Regions from separate parts of the Homo sapiens genome. Here regions 1, 2, 3, 4, 5 and 6 are each linked to region 7. Evidence: promoter capture Hi-C in human tissues and cell types (Jung and others, 2019). All regions are on one chromosome and are shown on one strand. Each heading gives the region's core, a stretch centred on a gene start or on the middle of the fragment in contact. The rest is flanking DNA. Distances are from core to core; before and after follow the strand shown. Region 1 has its middle 8.3 kb from the start of P2RY2. Region 2 overlaps IUR1 (imatinib upregulated ABL suppressing lncRNA 1). Region 3 overlaps PAAF1 (proteasomal ATPase associated factor 1). Region 4 overlaps LOC105369382 (a long non-coding RNA gene). Region 5 has its middle 8.2 kb from the start of DNAJB13. Region 6 overlaps PAAF1 (proteasomal ATPase associated factor 1). Region 7 holds the start of FAM168A (family with sequence similarity 168 member A).

Region 1 (2,859 bases), core at 322-2,821, 390 kb after region 7:
TTTCTTCCTTTCTTTCTTTTTCTTCCTTCCTTCCTTCCTTCCTTCCTTTCTTTCTTTCTTTTTCTTTCTTTCTTTCTTTTTCTTTCTTTCTCTCCTCTTTTTTGAGACAGGGTCTTGCTCTGTTGCCCAGCCCAGCTCATTGCAACCTCGGCTTCCCAGGCTCAGGTGATCCTCCCAGCTCAGCCTCCCAGCTGGGACTACAGGCTGGTGCCACCACACTCAGCTGATTTTTTATATTTTTAGTAGAGATGGGGTTTCACCATATTGCCCAGGCTGGTCTTGAACTCCTAGGCTTAAGCAATCTGCTTGCCTCAGCCTCCTAAAGTGCTGGGATTATAGGCATGAGTCACTGCGTCCAGCCTCAGTATTTCTTTTTCACTTATATAACCCAGCAGGCTGAAAATGATGTGTCTCCCACTACTTTTTTGTTTATATCAACCTCTCCTTCTATTGCTATTTCATCTATTTTGATCCTCTGTTATTCAATATATAAAAGTACATCCTCACTATGGCTTACATATTTTTATAGATAAAAGTGTCCCCTTTTTGTCCCATCTAATGCTTTTAGCCATATTTTAAAATATTTCTTACATCACTACTACCATCCCCTGCTTTATTTCATTTGCATTTAGCCAGCATAGCTTTGTCTGTGCTTCCAAATGTAAACTTGTTGTGTCATTTAACTTTTCTATTTAAAATTTGGAATGAGTAATATATGGTTCAAAAATGTTATAGTATAGGAAAAAAAGATATTCAGAGAAATGTCTCCCTCCATCCCCCATCATTCAGTTGCCTGATTTCCACTGCTCCCTTCACTCTTAACCTGGAAAGTGTTTTTGTTAGTTTATTGCGTATCCTTGAGTTCCTTTGTGTGAATACAAACATTTCCACTTATTTTCCTTTTTAATTTTTATTTATTTTTAATTTTTTTTAACATGGAGTCTCGCTCTCTCACCCAGGCTGGAGTGCAGTGGCGTGATCTTGGCTCCCTGCAGCCTCCACCCTCCAGGTTCAAGCGATTCTTGTGCCTCAGCCTCTCAAGTAGCTGGGACTACAGGCTTGCACCACCATGCCTGGCTAATTTTTTGTATATATTTTTTTCAGTAGAGACAGGGTTTCACCATGTTGGCCAGGCTGGTTTCAAACTCCTGACCTCAAGTGATCCATCTGCCTCAGCTTCCCTCATTTTCCTTTTTGAAAAAACACAAAAGAGTATCATAAAGATACACACTGACCCTTGCATGTTATCACTTAACAGTGTATCTTGGAGATCTTTCCAAGTCAGTACATTGGAAGCTTCTTCATTCTTTATAAGGGCCGCATAGTATCCCATTGTATAGTCATACCATAATGTATTTAACCAGTCCTCTGTTGGTGGACATTTGGGTTGTTGCCAATTTTTTGCTAGTACAAACAATGCTGCAATGAATAGCCTTGTACATATTTTTTTGCTTGGGTGTAAATATATGTAGGAAAATTTCACAGAAACTTATTACTCGATCAAAAGGATTGTGCATTTGAAGATGTGATAACTGTTGTCAAATTGTCAGCCACCGAGATTGTATTCATTTACCCTTCCACCAGCAGTGTATGGGAGTGCCTGTATCTCCATAGCCTCATCAACACTGTGATATCAAACTTTTGGATTTTTGCCAGTCTGATAGGTGAAAAGTCATGTCTCAGTGTAGTTTTAATTTGTCAGGTTTTTTTTTTTGTTTTGAGTGCATATCTTCATAACAAAAGTATAATTTATGATCCATTTCCATTTCCTTTTCCATTACAGTCATGAGTTGCTTAAAGACTGGGATGCTTTCTAAGAAACGTGTCACTTTGCGATTTCATCATTGTGTGAACGTGAACACAAACCCAGATGGTATAGCCTACTACACACCTAGGCTATATGGTATAGCCTATTGCTCCTAGGCCACAAACTTGTACCTGTACTGAATACTAGAGGCAATTGTAATACAATGGTAAGTATTCGTATATCTAGACATATCTACACATAGAAAAGGTACAGTAAAAACACAGTATTATAATCCTATGGGACCACTGTTGTATATGCAGTTCATCATTGATCAAAACATCACTATGCGGTGCATGACTGTATATCCTTTAGCCATTTTTCTATTAAGTTGTTGGTCTTACTGATTTGCATTAGCTTATTGTATTTTAGGAAGATTATTCATCCCTCTGTCTGTGACCTGAATTGAAAATATTTTTTCCTAGTTTGTCATTTGTCTTTAGGTTTTACTTAGTGTCTTAGTCCATTTTCTGTTGCTATGACTGAATACCATAGACAGGGTAATTAATAAAGAATAGAGATTTATTTAGCTCATGATTCTGGAGGCTGGGAAGTTCAAGAGCATGGTTCAGGCATCTAGTGAGGGCCTTCCTGCTGTAGCATGACATGGTGAGAGGTATCGCATGGCAATACGGAGCAAGCATGCTAGCTTAGGTTTCTCTTCCTCTCCTTATAAAGCTACCAGTCCCATCATGTGGGCCCCACCTTGATGACTTTGTCTAATCCTAAGTGCCTCCTGAAGGCCCCACTTCCAATCAACAATGAATTTAGGGATTAAGTCACTAACACATGAAATTTGGAGGACATGTTCAAATCATAGCACTTAGGTTTGTAACTTTTTTTTAACATAGAAGTTTTAATTTTTCTGTGATTTAATTTATCAATCTTTTATTTTTATTTTTATTTTTTTTTTATTCAGGGTCTCATTTTGTCCCCCAGGCTGGAGTGCAGTGGCATTTTCTCAGCTCACTGCAGCCTTGACCTCCCAGGCTCAAGCAATCCTCTCTCCTCAGCCTCATAAGTACCTGGGACTACAGGCGTGCACCACCACACCT
Region 2 (2,962 bases), core at 190-2,689, 440 kb after region 7:
CTGCTTCTGAACTAATGGGTGATCTGAATTTAGCATCTTGGCCTAGGGAGTGGAACTGAAGGTCACAACTGGAGCTGGGCCTCACGTAGGCTCCCTCATGTGTAGGCAGAAAATGCTGTCTTCTCTGTGGGTGAGCAAAGGTTGCCTATTTGCAAGAAACTATATCCCAAACATTCTTTCAAAGTGCCTAAAATTCCACCAGTAGAATTACACCTTCTTTGCACAACAGAGCTGAAAGGCTGTTGAAGCAGCACATTCCAGCAACCTTTTGCTCAGATTGTTGTGCCTTTGGAGTAACTGTGATCCTTGGTGAAATGTGAATGGAGTCAGGGAAGGGATGCATGTGAAGCCCTTAGTGGCTGGATTAACCAACTGTTGTCACCAGCTCCTTCGGTCAATTTGGTCTATTAGCTGAGCTCAGTGCTCCTAATGGGGAACAGAGGAACCTGGACCCAGGCTGGATAAGCTTTGTAGGGACAGTGAACAGGAAATAGCCTGAGTACTTGAGTACTATCATGGGCTGTAGACATAGGCAAGGGGCCATGGTGGAATCCTGAAGATGAGGAGCGGCTCTTGAAGGGGACCCACGAAGGAAACCTAAGTAAGGAAAGAGGCCCAGAGACTTTCCCTCCCATTCCCCAGGGTTGTCTTGAGCTGGCTTGGGTGCAAAAAGGAATAATATACTTTCCTGGTCCCCCTCATCCTGCCCCACCTCTGGAACTAGAGAACCAAATAACTTGAGAACTGCATGTAACTTGTGTGGTCCCTCCACCAGCTTAAGGTAAAAACTATGGCCAAATTTTTTCCCCATTAATTGCTTGAGCTCCACAAGATTTTATCAGCAGGAAGTTCAATCTGGCCCTCTGGAGGCCTTCCCCCATGTCACAGGAGTGCTCAAAACCCACAGGGACTACACTAGCTCCTTTCCAACAAAGGCACTCTTGAGTCCCAGTCTTGCTCCATCTTACTGTTCAGAGTCCCAGCAGCTGTGAACACATGACCCCCAAATCCAAGCTTTCATTCACACTCCTGAGCTCCAGCAAGTTTCACCAGGAGGAAGGTCCAGAGGGGCTTCTAGGTCCTCAGCCCCAGAGTTAAGCCTGGCCACCAGTCCAAGGCTCCTTCCTACACCACTGGGGGCTCAGGGGTTCTTTCCTTCCAACAAGTGGGGCTCACTGGGGATGGTCATCTTAGCAGCCAGATAACTTTGAACCTCACAAGGAAAGTGACTGGACCTTCTTCCATTTGTGCCCTGGGGCTCCTTTGTCAACGTCTCACTCCTCCCAAATATGTTGCCTTTTTCTTCAGCTCTGCATCCCATTTGATGTTAGGAGAGGCAGCCTTTGTTGGGCCACAAAAGGTCCTGTTTTGTCTCCCAGGTGCTACTTACATCTGATAAACTCAAGTGGTGGACAGAACAGAGAGGGCCTCCTCCAAGGTGACTTGCTAAGTCCTCCCCTAACGACGAAATAGAGAAGCTTCCTGCCCCTGTTACACATGGCCTCCTCCCGGTAAGTATCCCAGAAAGGAAGTGACTTCAGTGACCATTAGTCAGGGACTTTTATACTATGCCACTGGGTTCCTCAGAAAAGACCTCTGTGTGGGGCAAGTCAGGGAGAGGGAGACCAAGAGAAAGTGCCCTCTACACACGAGCACCCCCTCAATACACATACACGCATGCACGCACACGCACGTGCATAGTTATCAGCCCCATGCGACCTTACCTGCCCTTCTTGCCTCCAGTTAACCACTATCAACTCCTCACCAAAGCCTTCATGCAGTCTTTGGGTAACTTTTCCTCTGATTAAAGAACCCTGCAGCTAAAATACGGTTTTTGTTTTGTTTTGTTTTGCTTTGTTTTTTATTTAGAGACAGGGTCTTGCTCTGTCATCCAGGCTGGAGTGTAGTGGTGTAATCATAGCTTACTACAGCTTTGAACTTCTGGGCTCAAGTGATCCTCAGCCTCCCAAGAAGCTGGAACTACAAATGTGCACCACTGTGCCTGGCTAATTTTTTCTTAAATTATTTTGTTGTTGTTGTTGTATAGACAGGAGTCTGCTTAGGCTGGTCTCGAACTCCTGAGCTAAAGCAATCCTCTGCCTTGGACTCCCAAAGCATTGGGATTACAGGCACGAACCACTGCACCTGGTCAAATATGTTTTTTGAAAAAAAATCTCCAGGCCAACCACAATGAGATACCACTTCACACCCATTATGATGGATATAACTTTTTGTTAAAAGGAAAATTACAAGTGTTTGCAAGGATGTAGGAAAATTGGAACCCTAGTGCACTGCTCATAGAAATGTAAAATGGTGTAACCACTGTGGAAAACAGTTTGTTGGTTCCTTTAGAAGTGAAACATTGAGCTACCAAGTTGATCCAGCAATTTCCCTTCTAGGTCTATATCCCCCAAAATGGAAAGCAGAGACTTAAGCAGATACTTATATACCAATGTTCACAGCAGGATTATTCTCAATAGCCAAAAAGTGGAAATAACCCAATTGTCCATCAACAGATGAATGGCTAAACAAAATGTATACCCATAAGGTGAAATATTATTCAACTTTTAAAAAGGAATGCAGTACTGACACATGTACAACATGGATGAATCCTGAAAACATTATGAAAGAAGCCAGATACACACAAAAAACAAGTATTGTATGATCCCACTTATATGAGGTACCTAGAAAAGGCAAATTCATAGACCAAAAGCAGAATAAGAGGATTATCAGGGGTAGGAGGAAGGGGAATGGGGAGTTAATGTTTAATAATTACAGAGTTTCTGTTTGGGATGATGAAAAGCTTTGGAAATGGGCTGGGCGCAGTGGCTTACACCTGTAATCCCACCACTTTGGGAGGCTGAGGAGGGCAGATCACCTGAAGTCAGGAGTTCAAGACCAGCTTGACCAACATGGTGAAACCCATCTCTACAAAAATACAAAAAAATTAGAGGGGCATGAT
Region 3 (3,080 bases), core at 334-2,833, 290 kb before region 7:
CCCTACCTCCAACACTGAGGATTAAATTTCAACATGAGATTTGGAGGGGTCAAACATACACACTATAGCACTAAACTCTAATTTGAAAGGGAATACACTTTCAAGACTAAAATACATTTTCTTTTTTTTTTTTTTTTTTTTTTTTTTGAGATGGAGTCTTGCTCTGTCGCCCAGGCTGGAGTGCAGTGGCGTGATCTCAGCTCACTGGAATCTCCACCTCCTGGGTTCACACCATTCTCCTGCTTCAGCCTCCGAACAGCTGGGACTACAGGCACCCGCCACCATGTCGGCTAATTTTTTGTATTTTTAGTAGAGATGGGGTTTCACCATGTTAGCCAGAATGGACTCGATCTCCTGACCTCGTGATCCACTCGCCTCAGCCTCCCACAGTGCTGGGATTACAGGCGTGAGCCACCGCGCCTGGCCTGACTAAAATACATTTTCAAGACTAAAAGCTAAGAACAAAGATTTAGAGATTTGATACAGCATTTGTAGAGAGGGCTTTTAGAGTGATCTCAACCTGATGTAACTGGCTGTGAAATGTAATTCTTCCAGGATGAAAGGTGAAGATCAGTATGCATACATGTATTTATCTACAGTATATACACATAATACATAGTAAAGAATTAAGCTTCAGTAACCTGTAAAATTTGCCTAAGTAGAATACTGATTTTGCAGAGATATGGGCTAAGTAAGATACTATCCTACACATAAACACACGCAGATGATAGAATGAAGTTAAAAACTGTTTCCATTCTTCTTCTACACCTTATATATTCATGTCTATAACAGCCCATAACACACTGTTTACATGTCTGACTTGCCCAACAGACTGTGAAGTCCTTAAGTCTAGCAGGGTGCTACATTCATTTATTATTCAGTAAATAAATGTTGAGCCAAACTGAAGTTACAGGAGAGAAGCAGAAATCATCATGGATTCACACAAGAGTGGGAGGGATTTTTTTTTTTTTTTTTTTGAGATGGAGTTTCACTCTTGTCGCCCAGGCTGGAGTACAATGGCGTGATCTCAGCTCACTGCAACCTCCACCTCCTGGGTTCAAGCAGTTCTCATGACTCAGCCTCCCAAGTACCTGGGATTAAAGGCACGTGCCACCACACCTGGCTAATTTTTGTATTTTTAGTAGAGACGGGGTTTCACCATATTGGCCAGGCTGGTCTTGAGCTCCTCCCCTCAGGTGATCCACCCACCTCAACCTCCCGAAGTGCTGGGATTACAGGTGTGAGCCACCACGACCAGGCCGGGAGGGCTTTCTAGAGAGTATAGGAGCCTCAAAGAAAGATAGGAGCTGGCTAGGAAGAAAATAGGGAAAAGAAAACTCCAAGTCAAGGAGGAGCATATCAAGAATAAAAGAAAGTCAGCCGGGCATGGTGGCTCACACCTGTAATCTCAGCACTTTGGGAGCCCAAGGTGGGTGGATCACAAGGTCAGGAGTTCAAGACCAGCCTGGCCAACATAGTGAAACCTCTTCTCTACTAAAAATACAAAAATTAGCCAGGTGTGGTGGCACGTGCCTGTAGTCCCAGCTATGATACTCAGGAGGCTGAAGCAGGAGAATACCTTGAACCTGGCAAGCAGAGGTTGCAGTGAGCCGAGACCACGCCATTGCACTCCAGCCTGGGTGACAGAGTGAGACTCCATCTCAAAAAAAAAGAATATCACGCCTGTAATCCCAGCACTTTGGGAGGCCGAGGCGGGTGGATCACGAGGTCAGGAGATCGAGACCATCCCGGCTAAAACGGTGAAACCCCGTCTCTACTAAAAATACAAAAAATTAGCCGGGCGTAGTGGCGGGCGCCTGTAGTCCCAGCTACTTGGGAGGCTGAGGCAGGAGAATGGCGTGAACCCGGGAGGCGGAACTTGCAGTGAGCCGAGATCCCGCCACTGCACTCCAGCCTGGGCGACAGAGCGAGACTCCGTCTCAAAAAAAAAAAAAAGAATAAAAGAAAGTCAAAAAGAACAAGAAGGAAGGATTCATCAATTAATACACCAGTTTGGTAATAGCAGTCATGGAAATGATAGTTGAGGGATAAATCCCAGAGAAACTCAAAGTCTAGGGTAGAAGTTTGGCCTAGAGAAGACCTAGTAAAGACGCTTTTCACAGGGAAGTATCATGAAGCACTATTTCAGAAAGATGCCACAAAAACAGAACTGAAGCAACTTCACTTTTTATCCCACTCCATGATTCCCTATTGTGTTTACCAACTGCCTTAAGAAGTCTGGCCCTCATGGTGCATCATTTCAACCAATCACTCAATGACTTCTCCACATTTGTGGATGTATATATATGTATTTTTTTAATATTTGAGACAGGGTCTCGCTCTGTCACCCAGGCTGGAGTGCAGTGGTATGATCATGGTTCACTGCAGCCTCTATCTCCCAGAATCAAGGGATTCTCCCGCCTCAGCTTCCTGAGTAGCCTGCATGCCACCATGCCCAGCTATTTTTTTTATTTTTATTTTTAGTAGAGACAGAGTCTCACTATGTTGCTCAGACTGGTCTCGAACTGCTGGGCTCAAGCAATCCTTCTGCCTCAGCCTCCCAAAGTGCTTGGATTACAGGGTGAGTTACCCTGCCCAGCTGACTTCTCTACATTTGTGAAGTCACTAAAATGACCTCAGCCTTGGTTTTCTCTATATAATAGCAGAACTAGGATCAATCCAACCACTTACCTTCTACATTCCTACATGCAGGCTGCTGAGTACTGCTCCAGAAAAGAACACAACTGTGCCGACTGTCACCAATCCAATTCATGTTTCTAAACTCAGCAGTTTTGTAATCCTTTCACCCCTCCCATTCCCCACAGCAGCTGGTTCTCATGCCATCTATCCTGCCATCAAAATCTCCTTCCTTCATAATAGCCAAAAACTAGAAATATGTGTCCATTAATTGATGAATGGATAAACAAAATGTAGTATATCCATACAACAGAGTATTACCGGGCCACAAAAAGGAACGAAGTACTGATAAAAACAACAAATAGAAACATTATACTAAGTTGCCTGTAATCCCAGCACTTTGGGAGGCCGAGGTGGGAGGATCACTTGAGGCCAAGAGTTCA
Region 4 (2,882 bases), core at 181-2,680, 340 kb after region 7:
ATGGCCTCACAATCCTTAGCAGCTGGCAGGTGCCCAGCAAGATCCGGCACTGGATGAGCCATATCTGGCATTTCCAACAACTTTTGAGATATCCCCTCCCCCTGTCAGCCCCTGGCCTTGGTGTCCCTGTGGCCTCCTCTCAGGGCCGGGGCTGCTCTTTTAGCCCCAGCCATAGTCCTAAGACCCCAGCCTCCTTCCTGAGGTCCAGGAGCCCCCACATGGCTCCCCTTTGCCCTGTCAGTCCACCAGCCACAGCTAGCCCTTGTTCTGAACAGGAGAACCTCTTCCTGGAACTTGCCTCTTTCTCATTCCCACCACATTCCAGCTGCCCAACCAAGTGTTGATTCACAAATTCATGAGCCAGGAATCCTGCCCTGGCAGCTCTTAGTCAGGGCTCTGGATTCCTCTCTTGCCTCTAAGCACACTGATGGGACACTCCATTTAGCTCCCTCCTACCAGACCCATGCCCACCAGCGCTGCTCCTGGTACAAATGTTTGTTTGTTTACTTATTTATTTTCAAAACGGAGTCTTTCTCTGTTGCCCAGGCTGGAGTGCAATGGCATGATCTTGGCTCACTGCAACCTCCTTCTCCTGGGTTCAAGCAATTCTCCTGCCTCAGCCTCCTGAGTAGCTGGGATTACAGGAGTGTTCCACCACACCCGGCTAATTTTTTGTATTTTTAGTAGAGACAGGGTTTCACCATGTTGGCCAGGCTGGTCTTGAACTCCTGACCTTGTGATCCACCTGCTTCGGCTTCCCAAGGTGCTGGGATTACAGGCGTGAGCCATCATGCCTGGCTATAAATGTTAACATACTTTCTGGCAGTATATAAAGGAGCATAGTGCCTATGTCAGAGGAGGTGATAGTCCACAGAGATCTGCTGCTCACACTACCTGTGGAGCCCTGTGACCTCTGCAACACTGCCTGCTGCCCTTGGGACTGTAGGGACACTGAGAGGGTGATGAAACCAACACATGGAACAAAAAGCCAAGTTAGGCCGGGCGCGGTGGCTCACGCCTGTAATCCCAGCACTTTGGGAGGCCGAGGCAGGCGGATCACCTGAGGCCAGGAGTTCAAGAACAGCTTGGCCAACATGGCAAAACCCCGTCTCTACTGAAAACACACACAAAAAATTAGCCAGGCGTGGTGGCTGGTGCCTGTAATCCCAGCTACTGGGGAGGCTGAGGCTGGAGAATCGCTTGAAACCAGAAGGTGGAGGCTGCAGTGAGCTGAGACTGCGCCATTGCACTCTAGTCTGGGCAGCAAGAGCGAAACTCCATTTCAAAATAGAATAAAATAAAATAAAATTTAAAAAAGCCAAGTTAATGTGAGTCAACCCTTGGGAGTGGGGCAATTCTTTCACTTGGTACCAACAGATCCCTGTCCATTTTAAAACAGATTTACTGAATCTGAGATTCAAGCAGACATTATTGTCTAGTAAATAGTCTAAACTATGTTCATAATGAAGAAAAAGTTGGTGTTTTCATTTATTTCAGCTCTTTAAGAAATCAACAAATCAAAACTGAAATATTGGAAATGACCTGTCTATTCATAGGGAACTGGTTAAATAAATCATGGTTGTTAAAACAGAACAGGGGAGTTTTTATGTAGAAAGACCTTTAAGAAAACTTCAGGGCCAGGCATGGTGGCTCATGCCTGTAATTCCAGCACTTAGAGGCCAAGGCAGGGGGATCGCTTGAGCCTGGGAGTTCAAGAGCAGCCTGGGCAACATAGTGAGACCCTGTCTCTAAAAAAATAGAATAAAATAGCCAGGCGTGATGGCTGACACCTGTAATCCCAGCACTTTGGAGGCCAAGGCAGGGGGATCACAAGGTCAGGAGTTCAAGACCAGCCTGGCCAACATGGTGAAACCTTGTCTCCACTAAAAATTATACAAAAATTAGTTGGGCATGGTGACACATGCCTGTAGTCCCAGCTACTCAGGAGGCTGAGGCAGGAGAATCACTTGAACTCGGAAAGTGGAGGTTGTGGTGAGCCTAGATCGCACCGCTGCACTCCAGCCTGGGCGACAAGAGCGAGACTCTGAATCAAAACAAAAACAACAACAAAAACACCAAAAAACAAACAAACAAAAATTAGCTGGGTGTGGTGGCACGCGCCTGTAGTCCCAGCTACAGGGGAGGCTGAGGCAGAAAAATTGCTTGAACCCGGGAGAGATAGTGCCACTGCACTCCGGACTGGGGGACAGAGGGAGACTCCATCTCAAAAAAAAAAAAAAAAAAAAAAAGAATAAAATAAAAATAAATTTAAAAAGGAATTTTCAGAAGAAAGCTAGGTGTAGAAATATGTATGTAGTAGTATGCAAACTTTTGTGTATGAAGGAAGAAAAAAAACACTACTTTTAGGATTTGTATATACATATAGTTACCTGGAAACATAAAGAAGCAACCACTGACTGGGTTACTTATTAGGGCCAATAACAGGGAGATCCTTCACTGTTTACCTTTTTTTGTTTGTTTGTTTGAACCAAGTGAATACATTATTTAGTTGAAAATTAAATGAAAAAGAAACAGATCACTTTTAAAAATCAAGATGTCACATTTAGTAAAGGTGCCCCAAATGTTGAGGCGTGACAAGGTTCCAATGATGAGAAAAATGGAATGTTTTTATCAACAAAGATTGATATAGGGATTTACTGTTTTCTAAGTAGTTGTGCATAAATTTAGACATTAACTTTCTTCAGCCTGGGCAACATGGCAAAAACCCATCTCTACAAAAAAAAAAAAATACAAAAATTAGCTGGGCATGGTGGCACATGCCTGTAGTCCCAGCTACTCAGGAAGCTGAGGTGGGAGGATCACTTGAGCCTGGGAGATTAAGGCTGCAGTGAGCTGAGATCGTGCCAATACAATCCAGCCTG
Region 5 (2,806 bases), core at 48-2,547, 340 kb before region 7:
GCAAAAGGGACACATAGAGCCTACTTTCTCTTCTTGGAATTCTCCTATGTTTGTCATTAAGAAAAAATCAGGGAAATGGAAAATGTTAACAGACTTGAGGGCCGTTAATGCTGTAATTCAACTCATGGGCGCGCTGCAACCAGGGCTGCCCTCCCCAACTACGATTCCTAAATACTGGCCTCTCATAGTGATAGATTTAAAAGGTTGCTTTTTTACCATTCCTTTAGCGACCCAAGATTATGAAAAATTTGCTTTTACTGTTCCCGTCATAAATAACAAAGAATCAGCAGATAGATACTATTGGAACGTATTTCCACAAGGCATGTTAAATAGCCCAACTATTTGTCCAACTTATGTTGTTAAAGTTTTTATGCCAGTTAGAAAACAGTTTAAAAAATGTTATATCATCCGTTACATGGATAATATCTTATGTGCAGCTGAAACTAGGGAGGAATGAATACTATGCTACAAACAGAAAAGGCTGTAACTGCTGCAGGATTAATCACAGCCCCCGATAAAATCCAAACTTCCACTCTATTTCAATATTTAGGAAGGAAAGTAAAACAAAGTACTATTAAGCCTCAAAAGGTTCAAATTCAAAGAGATAATTTAAAAACTCTAAATGAGGCCGGGCGTGGTGGCTCACGCCTGTAATCCCAGCACTTTGGGAGGCTGAGGTGGGTGGATCACAAGGTCAGGAGATGGAGACCATCCTGGCTAACACGGTGAAACCCTGTCTCTACTAAAAATACAAAAAATTAGCCAGGCGTGGTGGCAGGCACCTGTAGTCCCAGCTACTAGGGAGGCTGAGGCAGGAGAATGGCATGAACCCAGGAGGCGGAGCTTGCAGTGAGCCGAGATTGCACCACCGCACTCCAGCCTGGGTGACAGAGCGAGACTCTGTCTCAAAAAAAAAAAAAAAAAAAAAAAAAACCTCTAAATGATTTTCAAAAATTATTCCCACTTTAGGCATTCCTACTTATGCTATGTCTCACCTCTTTTCTAACTTATGAGGTGATTCTGATCTTAACAGCAAATGCTCTCTATCCAAAGAAGCATTGTAAGAACTTCAATTAATTGAAGAAAAAATTCATCAGGCACAAGTGACTTGAATTGATCTACTACAGCCATTACAGTTTTTCATTTTTCCTACTAAACATTCAACTACAGGTGTTACTGTTCAACAGGATGATCTAGCTGAGTGGCTTTTTCTACCTCACAATACAACTAGAACACTTACTCTGTACTTAGATCAAATTGCTGTACTGATAGGTCAAGCAAGGCTGTATACAACAAAATTAATGGGATATGATCCAAATCAAATTATAGTTCCTTTAAATAAACAACAAATTCAGCAAGCTTATGTTAACTCCCAGAAATGGCAAGTTAATTTAGCTGGTTTTATTGGTATACTTGATAATCATTATCCTAAATCCAAAATATTCCAATTTCTAAAATTGACATCATGGATATTACCCTCCACTACTCAAAAGACCCCTATTGAAGGGGCCAATACTGTTTTTACTGATGGATCTAGTAATGGAAAGGCCTCATTTGTAGGACCTCAACAACAAGTTGTTCAAACTGACTTTGCTTCTGCTCAAAGGGCTGAACTTATGGCTGTAATTACAGTACTAAAAACCTTTAAACAGCCAGTAAACATTATTTCTGATTCGGCCTATGTGATGCAAGCTGTGCAAAATATTGAATGTGCCTTAATTGAAAATGTAACTGATGATCAACTCAATCTTTTATTTCATTCTTTACAACAAGCAGTACAACAAAGGCATTCCCCTTTGTATATCACTCATATAAGAGCACATACTAACCTCCCCGTCCCTTTAACCAAACTCAATCAAAGGGCAGATGCACTGGTTTCTGCAGCTTTTACTGATACACAAACATTCCATTCTTTAACCCATCCTAATGCTGCAGGCCTTGGAAACAGATATGGCTTATCTTGGAAACAGGCTAAGGAAATTGTACAACATTGCTCTGCCTGCCAAGTCTTACACCTGCCACATCAAGGAACAGGAGTTAACCCTAGAGGTTTATCTCCAAATTCCATCTGGCAGAGGGATGTAACACATGTTCCTGCCTTTGGAAAGTTGTCCTTTGTTCATGTTTCAGTAGATACTTACTCACATTTTATTTGGGCCACATGTCAAACAGGAGAAGCTACAGCTCATGTTAAAAGACATCTTTTACCTTGCTTTGCAGTTATGGGAATCCCAGAAAAAATCAAAACTGATAACGGCCCAGGGTACTGTAGTAAAGCTATGGCTACATTTTTTTCAACAGTGGAATATTACCCATACTACAGGTATTCCATATAACTCACAAGGACAAGCAATAGTTGAAAGAGCTAATCATGCTTTAAAAACTCAAATACAAAAACAAAAAGGGGGAGACCAGGAATATAAAACACCGCATATGCAATTACACTTAGCTTTATTAATATTACATTTTCTAAATTTACAAAAAGATCAATCCATGACTGCAGCTGAACAACACTTGACAGGACAAAAGGAAAACAAAAAGGCCAGACAAGATATATGATGGAGAGATACTCACACAAAAAACTGGGAAAAAGGAAAGATAATTACGTGGGGAAGAGGATTTGCTTGTGTCTCTCCAGGTGAAAATCAGGTACCTGTGTGGGTGCCCATCAAACATCTGAAGATCTATCATGAGCCACACCAGGAAGAGAGGACTCTGGGAAGAGCCAGAGCTCCCAATACGAGTGATGGCGTGAATGAACATCTCAGAGACAAAAGAGAAGACCGAGAATACTCGTCAGGCGGAT
Region 6 (3,089 bases), core at 354-2,853, 320 kb before region 7:
CACATGCCTTCATATATGGGATTCTATACATGGGATTCTACCGAGGCCAGCTCTTTTCCTCCTTCTTTACTTGGCAACGTCCTACTCAACAAGACCCAATGTTTCTCATTTCCTTGGAGAAGCAGTCTCACCTCCTTCCCTCTCCTTTTTGGTGCTTCCTTAGATTTCTGTAGCTAGCCCTGTCAGACAAGTGATCACACTGCACAACAGTCTTTTACTTGTCCATCTTTACCATTAGACTCCAGGTGCCTCAAAGGCAGAGTCTGTATCTTTTTTTTTTTTTTTTTGAGATAGAGTCTCGCTCTGTTGCCCAGGCTGGAGTCCAGTGGCACGATCTCAGCTCACTGCAACCTCCACTTCCCAGGTTCAAGCGATCCTCCTGCCTCAGCCCCCCAGTACCTGGGATTATAGGTACGTGCCACCATGCCCAGCTAATTTTTGTATTTTTAGTAGAGACAGGGTTTCGCCATGTTGGCCAGGCTGGTCTTGAACTCCTGACCTCAGGTGATCCACCCACCTTGACCTTCCAAAGTGCTGGGGTTACAGGCGTGAGCCACCACGCCCAGCCCAGAGCCTGTACCTTTTATTTCTGGTTTTCAGTGCCTTGAACCAAGCCTGATGCCCACAGAAGCTATTTTCAATAAATATCAGTTGAAAAAAGGAAGGAAATCAAAGGAGGAAGGGACAAAATTGTAGAAATTGTTAAATCCTGCAACAGAGAGATTGTGTGATTCTCTTTGGATATCTTTAAGGCCAAAGAAAAGCCTGTTTAGAAAGGTCATGATCAAAACTACATAACTAACAGAGCTGGGTTCCTTGAACTAAAAATGATCATTCAGGGCTGGGTACAGTGGCTCATGCCTGTAATCCCAGCACTTTCGGAGGCTGAGGCGGGCAGATCACGAGGTCAGGAATTCGAGATCAGCCTGACCAACATGATGAAACCCTGTCTCTACTAAATATACAAAAATTAGCTGGGTGTGGTAGCGCGCACCTGTAATCCCAGCTACTCAGGAGGCTGAGGCAGGAGAATTGCTTGAACCCGGGAGGCAAAGGTTGCAGTAAGCCGAGATAGCACCACTGCACTCCAGCCTGGGCGACAGAGGGAGACTCCATCTCAAAAAATAAATAAATAAATAAAAATAATTCAATCTTTCAATCTTAGGGTAGCCAGGGTCTAATGTAAGAGAAAATTACTGAGCTCTTTAAAATTAAAAGTTCTAGACAATCAATTTAAATGAAATGTTAGTTTATATTTAAGCTTAATTTTCAAAGCAATCATTAGTCAGACAATCATAATGGTATGAATCATATATTTTAATATGAGTCCAGGAATAATAAGAAAAATCAGAAAATTCAGACTGGAAAACCTTTGTAAATGGAAAAATATACCCTTGATTCAATAGTTATCTATATGCTAGGCTAAATCAATGTTAAAGCCAATAAAAATTTCCACTCTGCAGAAGACCTGCATCATGTAAATGAATGGTGACTCACCTTGGACTCCTCACATCCAGCTGATAAATGTTTCCATCTTGAGTCCCAGCCAATAGCAAGAAGCCAGAGAGAAAAGTACAGCAGTTGAAAGCGTCTGAGCCAATAAAGAGGAACACCTGGGAACAAGTAGGAGGCAAAAATGCTGTTTAAAGATTAATTTGTTTCCAAGAATAAACAGGCACCAAAAAAGGAAAAATTTCACTATATTTTGAGATATTTTCTTCCTTCCCCCTTTAATTATTCTCAAATGGTAAATTACACATTCACCAAAAACTGAGAAGGAAGTACTCCCAGGATTTCAGGAACCTGGGGTTGACTAAGGACTTGAGCAGGTTATATAATATACTCTGAAGTAGCAGTTTTCCAACTACTACCACTCAACACACTGTCTCACAGGATCCTCACCACCAAAATTCCTTCTTTGCCCCTTTTTCATGACAACTTTCTGAGAAACACTTGCAATTCCCACATGTAAGTTTTGCTCCATGTCACTTCAACCTTTTGAAGGAGGGTATTTTGTAGGAAAATGAACAGGCTTAAATAAAGTAGCAATGTAAAGAATCACAATTCTCCCCATGAATCTGAAAAAAAAAATTATTATAGTTTTATTTTCTCCTTACTGTTAGCTCAAACTGATCATGTCTTCCCCAAACATACTAAAAAGAAAAGGCAAAAAACAAAATAAACAAACAAAAAAACCTGATTTCCCTCTGGAAGTAAAAGCCAGCATGGAAACTCAAGTACAAAGGCGATATTAGCAAAAATGGTAATGTTCCTGAAACAAACTTTGAAAATGGAAATATCACCAGCACAGTGGAGTAACAAGATGAAATGAAAACAGCAAACCCTGTGGCCAAATCAAATCACTAAAGTTGTCTGGATGACGATCACAGGAGCTAGAAGGAAATTTTAAAAATCTAATCTCTGGGAAGAGAGAATTTAGTTAAGAACATAATCTGCCCAGCAAAAATTCAGAGGATGTAGGAAGAAACTTCAACTAATGGTCTGTTCATTAATTGATCAAGAGTCCTGAATGCATGAGTCCCTTTTTTGAGACAGGGTCTCACTCTTGTTCCCCAGGCTGGAGTACAGTGGCGCAATCTTGGCTCACTGCAGCCTCGACCTTCCAGGCTAAGGTGATATTCCCACCTCAGCCTCCCAAGTAGCTGTAGCTGGGATTACAGGTGCATGCCACCATGCCCAGCCAATTTTTTGTATTTTTAATAGAGATGGGTTTTTTTGCCCAGGCCAGTCTCGAACTCCTGGACTCAAGCAATCCACCCTTTCTGGGCCTCCCAGAAAGCTGGGATTACAGGCATGAGCCACTATGCCCAGTGGGCGTGAGTTCTTTACTCAGAATTTTTTCACATTACCTTAGAGGTAGCAGGACTCATAAAGAAAATCTATACAACTTCATCATTTTACATATAGCACACTAAGGTCCAGAGAGGGAAAGTGACTTAACAAAGATCACAAAACAGTAGACCATTTAATCCTCATCACATACCCTATTATGACCAGTTTAGTGATGAGGAAGCAGGCTCAGAGAGGTTAAGTAACTTGTCCAATGCTGGAACCATTAAGTATTAATA
Region 7 (2,834 bases), core at 167-2,666:
CCTGGCCAATATAGTGAAACCCCATCTCTACTAAAAATACAAAAATTAGCTGGATGTGGTGGCGCGCGCCTGTAGTCCCAGCTACTCAGGAGGCTGAGGCAGGAGAATCGCTTGAACCCGGGAGGCAGAGGTTGCAGTGACCTGCGATCGCCCCCACTTTACTCCAGCCTGGCTATAGATCCAGACTCCGTCTCAAAAAACAAAAAAAACCTACGTGCAATCTGACACCCTTTCCCCCAAGATAATCATTGCTAATATTTTGGCGAACCTCTTTCCTGAAATCTCTCCATGCTTGTAGAATATTGTGTCAAACCTCACATAAATGCACTCGTGTAGACATGCTGTTGTGTAATCAACTTTTTCCCCGAAGAATAAATTGTGAATAGCTTTTCATGTCAATAGATTTATATCATTTTAAATGGCTCCTTAGTATTGCATTGTATGTATATGTCACGTCTTATTTAAGCAGCACCCTATCGATGAACATTTACTCCCTTCATAATTAACTACGTCATATAACAACTTTGTGCATTCATCTTTTCGAAATTGTTCGATCATCTTTTTAAGGTAAATTCTTAAAAGTAATGGAGCTGGGTCAAGAAGAGGATATGCCCTTTGTCGTTTGGATTCAAGTTGCCGAATCGTCCTCAAATTTGCAGGGAGACCAGCGAGGAAGCTCCGGCATTAGTTCTGGTGAGAGACAGCTGAAACGGAGATGGCGAGGGATGAACAGAATCACAGGTGATCTAGCCCATCAAGGCCCATCCTCGGTGGGCTGGCGTATTCCTTCCCTTTTGCCTCTCTTTCACTTCTTTTTCTTAACATGGAGGAAGAACCGAGAACTCCATCTCCCAGCATTTCGCAGGGACCACACTCCCTGGGAACTGTAGTACCGGGTCTGAGAAGGGTCCGGAAGGAGAATAGGAAGCTGAGGGGCATGCTGGGAGGTGTAGTCCAGAGACAGAGACGAGAGGGAGAGGGAGAGAGGGAGAGAGGGAGAGAGGGAGAGACAGAGAGTGTGTGTGTGTGTGTGGGCGGGGGGAGGGGGGTGTCTATGCAAAGAGGATGGAGACGCTGCGAGTACGGCCCCTTGGGGATGGGGCCTCGGGCGACCTGACTTTCCTCACAGGTGGTCTTTGAGTCTACAAAATTCGCCAGCGGATGGTTGGCTTTATTCCACTGTCCGTGACCGGAGAGGGCGCGGCCCCTCTGCACCGGGCTCGCGGCGGGAGGCGCAGGCCGCGCGCGGGCTAAAGCAGGGCATGCCGGGAGTTGTGGTCCCGGCGCTCTGAGGCTGTGGGACGTGTCGCGGCGCCGCGCCGGCTCCTCCTTCCCTGCCCTTCTGAGCGGTCCCCCGCCTCCTCCCTCCGCCTCCTCCTCCCTCGCCCGCAGCCGAGCGTCCCCTCCCCCCACCCGTCGGGCTCCTCGGCGGCTACTGCAGAGGATTCAGAGCCGAGTCGCTGAGGAGGAGGCTCCGGTCCCCGCGCGCCATCCGCCACCCTACTGGACACGGGCGAGAGCGTCGCCGCCGTAGCCTCCGGAGAAGACAAGGGCATCGCCGCCTCAGCCGCCGCCGCCGCCGTTTTCGCCTGCAGCTGCTCACCGGTGAGGAGACTCCCCCCGCCACAGGGTCCGCTGGTCCTGAGTCTGGGCCGGTGGCGCTGGCGAGAATGAGAGGGGAGGCTGCGGAGCCCCCGTGCAGGTTGGGGGGAGGGGGTTGAGGTCGCGATGGAACGGCGGGCTGGCGGGGGAGACTTGTCCAGGCGCTGGCCGGGGGTGGGGTGAGGGTGGGACCCAAGCAGGTTGGGGGGCGGGCGACAAGGGAGGAGGACTTTTGATGGAGAATAACCCAACCTGGGACAGGAGAGTGGGGTGGGGGCGTCGGGTTGGAATTCGGGATGGTCTTGGGGCGAGGTGGAAGATGAGACTAGGGTGGGATGGCTTTTAATGGGGGAGGGGACTGAATGAGGGTGGTGATTTGGGTTTGGCCTGGAGCAGTTGACAGCTTGGGATCTGAGCTGGGGTGAGGGGCAGGGGAATGATTTCAACGGAGAGTGAGTGGCATGTACAGGGTTGGTTAGGGCCCTGCGTAGTGTTAATTCAGAAGGGTGGAATTTGGGGTGGACCTGGGGCAGGATGATGGAGGTGGCAGGAGTTGGGGGTGAGGGGCTTGGCATGGGTTGAGACCCAAGCTTGAAGTGGGTGTTTGTCATCTGGGGCTGGTGGAATTTGTGGAGACTTATGGAATAGCATGGGTTAGGATAGAGCAGAAGAGTGCAATTTGGGGGTTTCCTGGGGTGGGCTGATGGAGGTTGGAATAGGAGTTGGTGGAGGTGGGACATTCAGTGAGGGGAGTGTGATGGTGAGCTGGCAGGAAGGGGCCACATTGGAAGTCAGGCCCGAAATGGGAGGACAGGGATGGAAATGGAGTGTGGGGCACAGTGGGTTGGATTTAGGGTGATCTTACAATCACTGGAAAGGGCATGGTGGCTCCTTGGTTGCAGAGTCAAGGCAGAGGGCACATAAAACATCACTGGGCTGCTTTCATTGAAAGGATAGCGGCAGGGGTGAGCAAAGTTGGGGGATGGTATCTTGAAGAAAATATCCCTTGGCCAAGGTGGCAGAGGGAGTTTTGGAGAAGGACTTTCGGAGATGAGCTGGTAGGCCTGGGGAGGTGGTTGCTGATGGTGAGGTGGCACAGGGGAAATTTAAGGAATGGGAGACCTGGAGCTGTTGGTATGGATGGGGCAGAGAGGATGGAGAGGGACAGTGAGCTGTGCTGGAGAGCAGGGGGGAATTGGGTTGGATTATTTTGGTGGTGAAGGATTGGGGTG

The links. Contacts are between HindIII fragments. The study calls those that stand out against the background at their distance.
Region 1: a contact is called between a fragment that was not itself captured here and the fragment with the promoter of FAM168A in region 7, in 2 of the 25 tissues and cell types used here (dorsolateral prefrontal cortex and mesenchymal stem cells).
Region 2: a contact is called between a fragment that was not itself captured here and the fragment with the promoter of FAM168A in region 7, in 1 of the 25 tissues and cell types used here (dorsolateral prefrontal cortex).
Region 3: a contact is called between a fragment that was not itself captured here and the fragment with the promoter of FAM168A in region 7, in 1 of the 25 tissues and cell types used here (liver).
Region 4: a fragment that was not itself captured here is called in contact with the fragment with the promoter of FAM168A in region 7 in 1 of the 25 tissues and cell types used here (H1 embryonic stem cells).
Region 5: a contact is called between a fragment that was not itself captured here and the fragment with the promoter of FAM168A in region 7, in 1 of the 25 tissues and cell types used here (hippocampus).
Region 6: a fragment that was not itself captured here is called in contact with the fragment with the promoter of FAM168A in region 7 in 1 of the 25 tissues and cell types used here (hippocampus).

The regions. Positions count from the first base shown.
Region 1 is chr11:73,208,585-73,211,443 of GRCh38, reverse strand. No RefSeq gene overlaps it. Among named protein-coding and RNA genes, the nearest start is that of P2RY2, 8.3 kb to the left of the region's middle. The HindIII fragment of the contact is 7,102 bases long and covers 1-2,859 here.
Region 2 is chr11:73,161,089-73,164,050 of GRCh38, reverse strand. IUR1 (imatinib upregulated ABL suppressing lncRNA 1) reads left to right here. Exons shown (of 4, transcript XR_950294.3): 3 at 1,380-1,511. Among named protein-coding and RNA genes, the nearest start is that of FCHSD2, 20 kb to the right of the region's middle. The HindIII fragment of the contact is 3,502 bases long and covers 1-2,962 here.
Region 3 is chr11:73,883,740-73,886,819 of GRCh38, reverse strand. The region is part of intron 2 of PAAF1 (proteasomal ATPase associated factor 1); the gene reads right to left. Among named protein-coding and RNA genes, the nearest start is that of PAAF1, 8.3 kb to the right of the region's middle. The HindIII fragment of the contact is 5,400 bases long and covers 1-3,080 here.
Region 4 is chr11:73,254,967-73,257,848 of GRCh38, reverse strand. The region is part of intron 2 of LOC105369382 (a long non-coding RNA gene); the gene reads right to left. Among named protein-coding and RNA genes, the nearest start is that of P2RY6, 16 kb to the left of the region's middle. The HindIII fragment of the contact is 9,601 bases long and covers 1-2,882 here.
Region 5 is chr11:73,941,397-73,944,202 of GRCh38, reverse strand. No RefSeq gene overlaps it. Among named protein-coding and RNA genes, the nearest start is that of DNAJB13, 8.2 kb to the left of the region's middle. The HindIII fragment of the contact is 7,569 bases long and covers 1-2,806 here.
Region 6 is chr11:73,915,069-73,918,157 of GRCh38, reverse strand. It overlaps PAAF1 (proteasomal ATPase associated factor 1), which reads right to left. Exons shown (of 12, transcript NM_025155.3): 9 at 1,498-1,613. Among named protein-coding and RNA genes, the nearest start is that of DNAJB13, 34 kb to the left of the region's middle. The HindIII fragment of the contact is 6,185 bases long and covers 1-3,089 here.
Region 7 is chr11:73,596,694-73,599,527 of GRCh38, reverse strand. FAM168A (family with sequence similarity 168 member A) reads left to right here and starts at 1,416. Exons shown (of 8, transcript NM_015159.3): 1 at 1,416-1,605. RefSeq lists silencers at 973-1,202, 1,333-1,462 and an enhancer at 1,354-2,082. The HindIII fragment of the contact is 9,297 bases long and covers 1-2,834 here.